2 separate regions of the Homo sapiens genome follow, and region 1 is linked to region 2. Evidence: promoter capture Hi-C in 16 types of primary human blood cells and fetal thymus (Javierre and others, 2016). All regions are on one chromosome and are shown on one strand. Each heading gives the region's core, a stretch centred on a gene start or on the middle of the fragment in contact. The rest is flanking DNA. Distances are from core to core; before and after follow the strand shown.

The links. Contacts are between HindIII fragments. The CHiCAGO score rates a contact against its expected background, and 5 or more counts as called.
Region 1: a fragment that was not itself captured here is called in contact with the fragment with the promoter of CBX2 in region 2 in 2 of 17 cell types (naive B cells and total B cells); the score reaches 6.4 in naive B cells.

Annotation. Positions count from the first base shown.
Region 1 is chr17:81,335,329-81,339,479 of GRCh38, reverse strand. RENO1 (regulator of early neurogenesis 1) reads left to right here. Exons shown (of 2, transcript NR_186479.1): 2 at 167-297. Among named protein-coding and RNA genes, the nearest start is that of TMEM105, 6.7 kb to the right of the region's middle. RefSeq lists an enhancer at 1-236. The HindIII fragment of the contact is 5,737 bases long and covers 1-4,151 here.
Region 2 is chr17:79,776,534-79,781,279 of GRCh38, reverse strand. It overlaps CBX2 (chromobox 2), which reads right to left and starts at 3,132. Exons shown (of 5, transcript NM_005189.3): 1 at 2,973-3,132; 2 at 2,853-2,896; 3 at 1,853-1,918. The coding sequence starts at 3,044. RefSeq lists an enhancer at 1,879-2,472 and silencers at 2,868-2,937, 2,948-3,327. The HindIII fragment of the contact is 13,003 bases long and covers 1-4,746 here.

The sequences.
Region 1 (4,151 bases), core at 344-2,843, 1.6 Mb before region 2:
TGTCCAGTTGGTCCCAGGATCCCCTAACCCATCATCATCCTGGGAGGAAGGCAGTGGCTCCTCCCAGCAGAGAGCTCCAGGACCCGCCCTGCCCTGTGGGCGGCAGGGCCCTCCTCCTAAGCCCCTCTTCCTGCCCATAAATGTATTTACACTTGTATTACCCCAGGTACGTGGCTGTGACAATGGCATCCCCAGCCTGCATGGAGGACAGGAATTGAACTTTAGTCTCCAGGCAATGAAGGTGCAGGGACTACACTTTATTAATGGTTGTTATGTAATAAAAAACGATAAAATGGCCCCTATTTGTAATTTTTAAATGCAATTTGTTTTAATTTATGTTTCTGAGTACTTCTGGGGCTTGATGGGGGCTGTTGGGACATTGCTGGAGGGGCTGGGCCACAGCGCCTCCATTAGGAGGCACCGGAGATGAGATAAGCCTGGGGTGGCGGGAAGTGCCGGGGACATGGAGGGCACAGCCATGGCCTTACTCTGGCAGGAGACGAATGTTCTGGCTGCCTTTTAAAAAGCCATGGCCTTGCCCTTCTGTCTCTGGCCACTACAGAGTGGGCCTGGGGAGACATTCCTGAACCAGACATCCGGAAGCCTGCTGGGCAGGACCATTTCCCAGGGATGCTGCGACCTTGGGTACGGTGGCTCCCCTCACTCCCCACACCCCCACAGGCATCTGGGCAGGTCCCTTGGGTCCAAAAGCAGCTGGCCCAGTGCCTCTGGCCCCCTCATCAGGAGCCCTGCCTTCGATCTGGCCACAGAGGAAGCAGCCTCGTTGAGTGGGGATTGGTTATTTCTTCTAGCCTTGGGAGGGTCCAGTGTCCCTTCTGGCGCTATCTGCCCAGCCAGGGCCCCGTAGTCAGTGCCAAGGCCTGAGGGCCCAGAAGCCTCTCCAGGTGGGTCTCCTTGGCTTCCTTCTGCACCTGGCATCTGCCTCCCTGAGGCTGCACACCCACTGTGCAGAGGCTGCTTGGCTGGGAAGGGGCGCCATCCTGCTGCCCCCTCCCCAACCCACACACAGACCTCAGAGCAAGGCAGGAGCCGAGATTGTGACAGCAACATTTCACCGCCAGTGACTGAGCCAAAGCAAACCGCATCAGATGCATGGTCAGAGAGGGGGAAGAGAGGGGGAAGGCCTTCTGGGGGAGTGTGGAGCCCAGCATCGGGGGTGGGGGGGGCCTGGCTTTGCACAAAAGAAGGGGCCGGGCCTGGTGGCTCATGCCTGTAATCCCAGCACTTTGGGAGGCCAAGGATCGAGGATCACTTGAGTTCCAGAGTTTGAGACCAGCCTGGGCAACATAGGGAGACCCTCATCTCTACAAAAAATAAAATAAAATTAGCTGGGCTTGGTGGCACATGCCTGTGGTCTCAGCTACTCAGGAGGCTGAGGCAGGAGGATTGCTTGAGCCCAGGAAGTTGAGGCTGCAGTGAGCCGTGATCATGCCACTGCACTCCAGCCTGGGAGACAGAGCAAGAACTTGTCGCAAAAATAAAAACAAAAAAACAAAACAAACAAACAAACAGAAGAAAGTGAGAAGGACCAGAGCTGGGGACTGTTGGATGGGAAGATGCCCAGCCGCGGTGGTCCCAGGCTCTGCCCGCTGCCCTCAGCCCCTTTTATTTCAGACCCATCAATAGCCTGTGTGTTCCGCGTGCAGATGTGGACACTGTCAGAGCCAGGGCCCCCAGGCGCCCCTGCATCCCCCGCCCAGACCTCCCGAGTTTCAACCAGATGCGGTGCAGCCCTGCGTGGGGCCACCCTTGGTATGGTGGGCGGGGCCGCTGCAGGGTACCTCCTCGTTCCACTTCAGGCCACTCCCAGCCAGTGGCCCCGGCTCTGTCCGAGGCCACCCCACCCCCACTCCTGAGGATGGAGTCTGCACCTGCTGCCCCTCCCACCAAGGACCGTCCCAGTGCCTCTCCCTCCCTTTGCCTTTTATTTTGGGAGCCTCAGCTTGCCAAGTTAATTGGCAAACTTTCCCAGAAGTAAACTTGAGGGATAGAAATTAATAATTTTCCCGGAGTTGCGCTCATTGCTAATCAGGCCAGCTGGGAGGAGGGGGCCTGGGTGCATCAGAGGACCCCTGCAAAGCCATTAGCATGAACAAGATCTAAGGGTGAGGGGTCCCCCTTGCAATTCAGCAGCTCTGCAGCCCCAGTGCCCAGGTGCAGGAGCACGGGGGGCACAGGGTGAAGGCAAGGGCACCTTGGAAGGATTCCAGCCATTCTCACACCCACACCCGGGCCTAGGCAAGCAGTTCCCCTCTTGCCGTGTGGCCTGGGCTGGATGGGGTCCCCAGGGTCTCTCACTGACCCTGGAAAGGCCCACTTGAGTGAGACAGGGAAGGGTGTGAGCCCTGACTGAAGCTCAGGCCGGGCGGGGGATGCGCCCTTGGGGAAGGAGCCTGAAAGGAGAGCCAGGAGTCCAGAGCAGGGCCCAGCTGGGACCCAGGCAACCCGCCCCGACTTTGGAGCCCTCCTTTTGGAGACAAGTGCCAGCCCACCAAAGGGTGCACAGTGTTGGGGACCCTGTCCCCAGGACTCCCTTGTCCTATAAGGAAGTGTAGCCCCAAATCCCCTACATTCCAGAACTCTGGCCTTCTTGGGCCTTGTGTCAGGCTGGTGGGAAATGGGTGGAGCTTAGAGGCCTCTGCTCAGGTCTCTGCACCCCCAGAGCCATGGCTGGGCCCCTGGCAGAACCTCGCCACCGTCCATTGCTTTGTCAGCTCCTTGGCTGGGCCTTCAGAGCCTGTGGAAAAAAGCATCAGTATGTGGTCCTCAGAGGACCTCGGTGAAAATGCAGATGCCAGGGCCCAGCCCTGGAGAGTAGAGTCGACGTGTCCACCAGGACCCCATGTGATCTAACCCAGGCAGTCCAATGACCGTGCCAGGAGGCCTGGGCTGGGCTACAGGGTCAGCTCTGGAGGGTGGGTCTCTTCTCTCATGAAGCGTTTATTGAATGGAAGGACAGATGGGTGGATGGATAGGATGGATGGGGTGTGGATGGGTGGATAGGTGGATGGGTGGATGGGTGGATGGTTGGATGGGTGGATGGGTGGGTGGGGGGTGGATAGATGGGTGGGTTGGGGAGTGGATAGATGGGTGGGTTGGGGGGTGGATAGATGGGTGGGTGGGTGGGTGGATAGATAGATGGGTGGGTGGATGGATGAATAACTAGTGAATGGTGGGGGTTTCCTAGGTGCAGAGATAATGTCCTTAGCCCATTCTAGGCCCCACTGTTGTCAGCAAAGTTGACTCCACTAACTCCACAAGGAAATTTCCCCTGGAGAGCCAGAGATCAGAGCCAAACCCTGAAGGTGGACAGACAGGGGTGGAGGAGGGGGAGGGGACTTCCTGCTGCTTCTCATGGGTGGGGGCATGTGGGTGGCCCTGGGTGCAGCCTGGCCCGGCCCCGGCCCCCCAGCATTCCTCTACTTGTGAAATGTGACTGCGTGAGTCTGGAAGAGCTGGGCATGCTCAAGGAGGGCGGGGGTGAAGCTCACATTAGGGGAAAGAGCAGGGCAGGGCCACAGATGCGCTCCCAGCTCACTGCCACAGCTGGGCGGGGCTTCTCTGCCCAAAGGCCAGGTGAGAGGCTGCCCTTTGCTGCCGGCAGCTTACCTGTGACCACCTCGTGCCCTCGGCCATGCCTACCCATCTGCCCACTCTGAGCAGGGCTGACCCTTCCCAGAGCCTGGTGGGCTTATGCTGGCCAAGAGCGCCAGCCCCAGGCACCTCATGGAGACTGCCAACCACCTTGTCCCTTGGCCACAGGGACATGGGGTAGGAAGGGAGAGGAGAAGGAAGAGAAAGTTGGCACAGGCCAGCACCTGTACTTGGTCTGTTTATAGCATTAGCACTTGGCGTCCCCATGACTGCCCTGCCATGGAAATCACATTAAAGATGAGGCACAGAGAGGGTCAGTAATTTACCCAAGGCCACACAGCAGGATTGGAGCTAGGTTTGTCTGACTAAGAAGCCTACCCTTATCTAAGACACAATGTTTTGCAGATTAATGAAAATCATCATCCCGCAGGGCACATGGCAGATCCCTGCTCCTGCCCAGCATAGTGCCCATGGCCTTCAGCCAGGTAGCTGACCTGGCTTCCCAGACGAGGCAGACTGGGGAGAACAGCTTCTCA
Region 2 (4,746 bases), core at 1,883-4,382:
GGCAGCTTCTGGTGCATAAAACCCTCACCCGGGCAAGGAGCACCGTGGGCCCTGTCCTCCAGCCCTCGCAGAGCCTGGCTGCTGGCACATGACTCTCCTTGTTTCCTTTTTAAAAATACCTCTCTGTTCCTAAACTCTACTCTTGAGGGAGATGACAGAGGTGCCGAGGTCTGAGGCAGGCAAGGCTCAATGCACGCACCACTCGCAGTACCCCCCCCGCCCCCAGAAGAGCCTCCACACCTCCAGGGTCATGAAGTGCTAGCAGAACCTCCAGCCCCCAGGGAAAGCCTGTATTTCAGAAAAGGGGCCCTGGTAATTATCTGGGCAAACATCATCTCATTGGGGCCTGGAAGGCAACCTCCTCAACACAGTTCTGATTAGTACCAGGCAAAGTTCATACTCTTAAGTGCTGGTCCTTAACCTGAAATCTCCTAAAAGGACAATGAAGTGTTGCATGGATCTCCTCCGCTGAAATATTAACCTGTGCACTGACTGCTGTGATCCTGTGCGTCGCCAAGGGCCATACCCCCACCCCCTCCAATACCAAGCAGGTAACCGCCAGCTCCTAGTGCCCAGAGAGAGCTAACATTTTGGTGGATGGAGAAGGCTGTCCCACCTTCTCTGTTTTCTTTCTTCCACGATGTCATCCAAGCCACCCATGGGTTTTACACTCTTCTTATCTCAGGTGTTTCTGCTCTAACCAAAACCACAATCTCTCTCAACAGTTAGGACACCGTCTTAGATCCAGAGAAGCGCACCAGCCTCTGAAGTGGGCCAAGCCATTCCCCCACCCCAAGGCTCACAGCACCCAGACAGGAACTAACAGAAGACGATGGGTTGCTGTTACGATTTTCCAAAGGGATTTAAGCAAGCACAGGCTCTTCTTTTTGCTCGCCCCACCAGAAAACTCTATTTCCCCATTATCATGACCCCTCTGGGAAGACCCAATATGTCCCGCTACAGTGGAAAAAAGGGAATGCACCTTTTGCTACCAGAGAACAAACCGTCCAGATTGACCCTGGCTGGGAAAGACTCCAGCAACCAATTCTTCTGCCTCTATCCACAGGGCAAGTCCAGCCAGGGGATCCAGGGGGAGCCGTCAGTGAAACCACCCCCCATCTTGCCATTGCTTGAACAGTACTCCCTGGCCCTTCATGCCAGGTGGGCACATCCACTGCCCTCTCCTCACCACCCCTTGCCCTTGAACATCTCAAGGAGGCCTATCTCTTAACCTAAACTTCCTACCTAAAAATAGAAATGACATCTAGAATTACAGAAACAAGTCTGGCCCAATCCGGCCTCATGGTGCTACTTGGTACTGTATGCTGCAGGCCAGAGCAAAATAAATGTTTCTTTCTTGAGAGAGACATCACAATAGGCACAACTGCGTGCTGTGTGTTCCAGCTCCCTCTCTGAGCCTTCTTGCCTGATGGCACACGCGTGCAGGGCTGGAAGGGCAGACCTGCGTCACTGTGGCAAACCTGCTCTCCTGGTTTTCTGTTAGCGCCATGTGCAAATTACTCAGCAGAAAAGGCCAAGAGAAGCTATAACATCTTTATCTGAAGCAACTGAAAAAGTTGGTTTTTGCAAGTATGGCTGTCGGAAACACCAAAGCAGCACTTACTTAGGTTCTTCTCAGGGATGGATACAGGCTGGCTAGGAGAAGGTGGGAGAGGGGCTGGCTGGGGACTTTTACAGCCAGCCACAGAGATGGCCCTGGACACAATCTTGCTAAGGGACCTCAGACCACAGCCCCAGCTCCAGCCTCCCGGCAGGCGAGCAGCGCCCAGCACGACTCCAACCAGCCACCGTCCCTCCCCCACACCCTCCCCAGTGCTGTCAGCGTCCTCACTTCTTCTGGAAGGCCAGGAGCAGCCTCGGGTCCAGGATGTTCTCCTCCGGCTCCCAGCTGTTATGTCTGCAAAGCAGAGGACAGGGCAGCATTAGACGCCAGGCTGATGATCACCGCTTTGCAAGGCAGCCCGAGGGGGCTCGCCCTCACCGCTCCTCGACTTGGGCCGATGGCAGTGGCACCGTAGCACCATGGCACTTCTCAAAGTCCAAACCCAGGTTTTGGAGGCTGGCCACCCCCCACCAAGCCAGCACTCTAACCTCAGACCCAAAGGGAAACTGCCGCTCCAACCCCCCAATTAAAACAAGGCCACAAGAGGACTCCCACAGTCTCTGCCTGGGAGAAAAACAAACCCCCATAAAACGCAAAGTTGCAGAGAGGGATTCCCCCAAACCCTGGCCCGGAGCCAGAGGAGGAAGGGAAGGCAGGTCCAGCATGCAGGGAGGGGCACAGGCGCCCAGCCCGAGATCCAGAACAATGTGGCGCGCGGGCCGGGGCACCTCGAGGGGTAGCGAAGAAAGAGCGGGGTCCGGGAAGACGCAGAAACGGGGCCGCGGGAGCAGCTGTGCAGAGAGCCCCTTCCGGGGATGCCAAACACCCTCCCTTCCATTAAAAGAAAGAAAAAAAAAAAGAAACTCTACATCCATCAATAGCAAGCTCAGGTTACAGCGGGGAGAATCTGGCCAAGAGGAGGGGGGCTTGCATCCCGCGCCTCCCTCCCGGCCGGGACGGGGGTTGGGGGGAGCGCGGCGCGGCAGCCGAGGAGGTTCTGGCGCGGGGGGCCGCCCAGCTCTGCACCCGCGGGCGTGTAAACAAAGGGCAACCTCGGGCCGGGCGGCCCCCGCCCCCCTCAGAGCCGGAGGAGCCCGCGGGGACCCCGCGAACTTCCCGCTCTGCCCGCGGGCGCCCCCAGGCCACCGGACGGCGCGGCCGAGGGGCTCCACGTCCCCACCCCCGGGCGAGGGGGCGGGAGGGGGGCGCGGCGTCGCGGGGGACTCACTTGGAGGACCAGCCGCGCCACTTGACCAGGTACTCCAGCTTGCCCTGCGGGGAGAGAAGAGGGGCCGTGAGCCAGACGGACAGCGGGCGGCGGGCGGGGGGCCCGGCGGGCCGCACGCACCTTGCGGAGCCGCTTGCTCAGGATGCACTCGGCGGCGAAGACCTGCTCGCCCACGCTGCTCAGCTCCTCCATGCTGCCCGGCAGCCAGCCCGACCGCGGCGCCCGCCGCCAGTCACCCGCCCGGACCGCCGCGCGCCCCGCCGGCAGCACACAAAGCACCGCCCCCGCCCGGCGCCGGCCCGCCCCGCGCACGCGCACCGCCGCTCCGCGCCCGCGCCCCGGCCCGCCGCCCGCCCCCGCGCGCTGCCCAAATCCCGTGCGGGCCAATCAGCGAGGGGGGGCGGGTGCGGGGCGGGGCGGGGCGCGCATTGTCCGCGGCGGGCTGGGCCTCGCGCTCCGGCGGGGGGTCCCGCGCGGGGCCCCGGGCGGGGGCGGGGGCGGGGGTGGGGGCGCGGGCGGGCCCCTGGCTGGGGGAGGAGGTGCCTAGGGACTTCGGGCCTGGGGCGCCCACCGAGTCCCGCGTGATTCCCGGGGCGCGCCCGCCCTTGCTCCCAACTCCGTTTTCCGGGCAAAAAGCCATTGTTCTGGCCCGAAGGGAGGGAAGCGGGACGGGGCGCGGCGGCTGCTTCCTGCCCCCGCCTTCGAGGGGCGCTGCTCCGGGGCACGCGGGGCCCCACCCTTCCCCCGGCTTCTTGAACTGGCTTTTCCTCGGCAGCGGGGGAGTCGCTCTGTTTTGGACGAGAGCAAAACGGGTCGGGGGCTGGGGAAGGAAAGGAAGACGAAGTCCGGGGGAGGGGCCCACAAACCCCAGCAGCCGAGGCTTTTTCCCCCAAAGGCGAGAGAGGAAAATGCTTTAACTTAAACCACCAAGCACTCTGAGAAAGAAGTAATACGAACTGCCCGGAGTTCTTATTAAACAGCTATGAAAAGTGGATCCAGCCCCCGAGTTTTAGGGCACGTGTAGGGAGAAAACCAGCTGCACCTTTTCTGAATTTGTTCCCCGATTTTGATGAAATGGAGGGGGAGGGGGCGGTTTGCAAGGCTGTTCCTAACTTCGGACTAGGTCAGTAGTGGCCCGCCAGGGCTGGGCAGCCGGCGTCCTTCGGATCAATTGTCCGCGGCAGAAAAGGGTCAGGCCATGTTATGAAAGTGGGGGTGACCCCTTGTCCTCCCTGTGATCGTCGTCAGCAGGCTACCCTTTTATTCCGGTGTTAAGATTCGAATTCCATGAAGAATCACCCTTTAAGTTATTTAGATTTTGAATCAGGACAAGTCAAACACGTAATGAAAGAGACCTGAGCCTTAGCTTCATTCGTCTCAACGCAGTCTAACTCCATGAAAATTCACTCTCTGCTTTTCTTGCTTCCTTGAACACAGCTGCAAAATTCTCTTTCTGTTGAGCAGATCCAAAAGTCGTTTCTTGTTGTAGGAGACTGTCTCAATGTAATTGTGATCATCAAAACCATATTTATAAAGGGTTCTGCAGGAGAAATGTGTTTTTTTGTTTTTACAGAAAGGCCTACTGGAGAAAATACTGAACTGTAGGAACCGATCTTTCAATTTATGGCGTGTTCTTCAGTTTCTTTGGTTAGATAGGTTACATTCATTTGATTTCCTGGAGAGTACGTGCAAATTCAGATGTTGTTTGCAAAGAGGGCAGGAGAAAGGGAAATGTCCTTGGGGGGAAGGTGTTTGTTTACTCAGGGGCAGAGGCAGTAAAGAATCCTTGTGTTGGGATAAAACTGGCCTCTGGAGTGAAGGGATCCGCTAACAGTGTCTCCGCCGGCTCCTTTTGTATCCCTGTCTTGTGCAGCTTGGCAGTAAATTGTGGAGT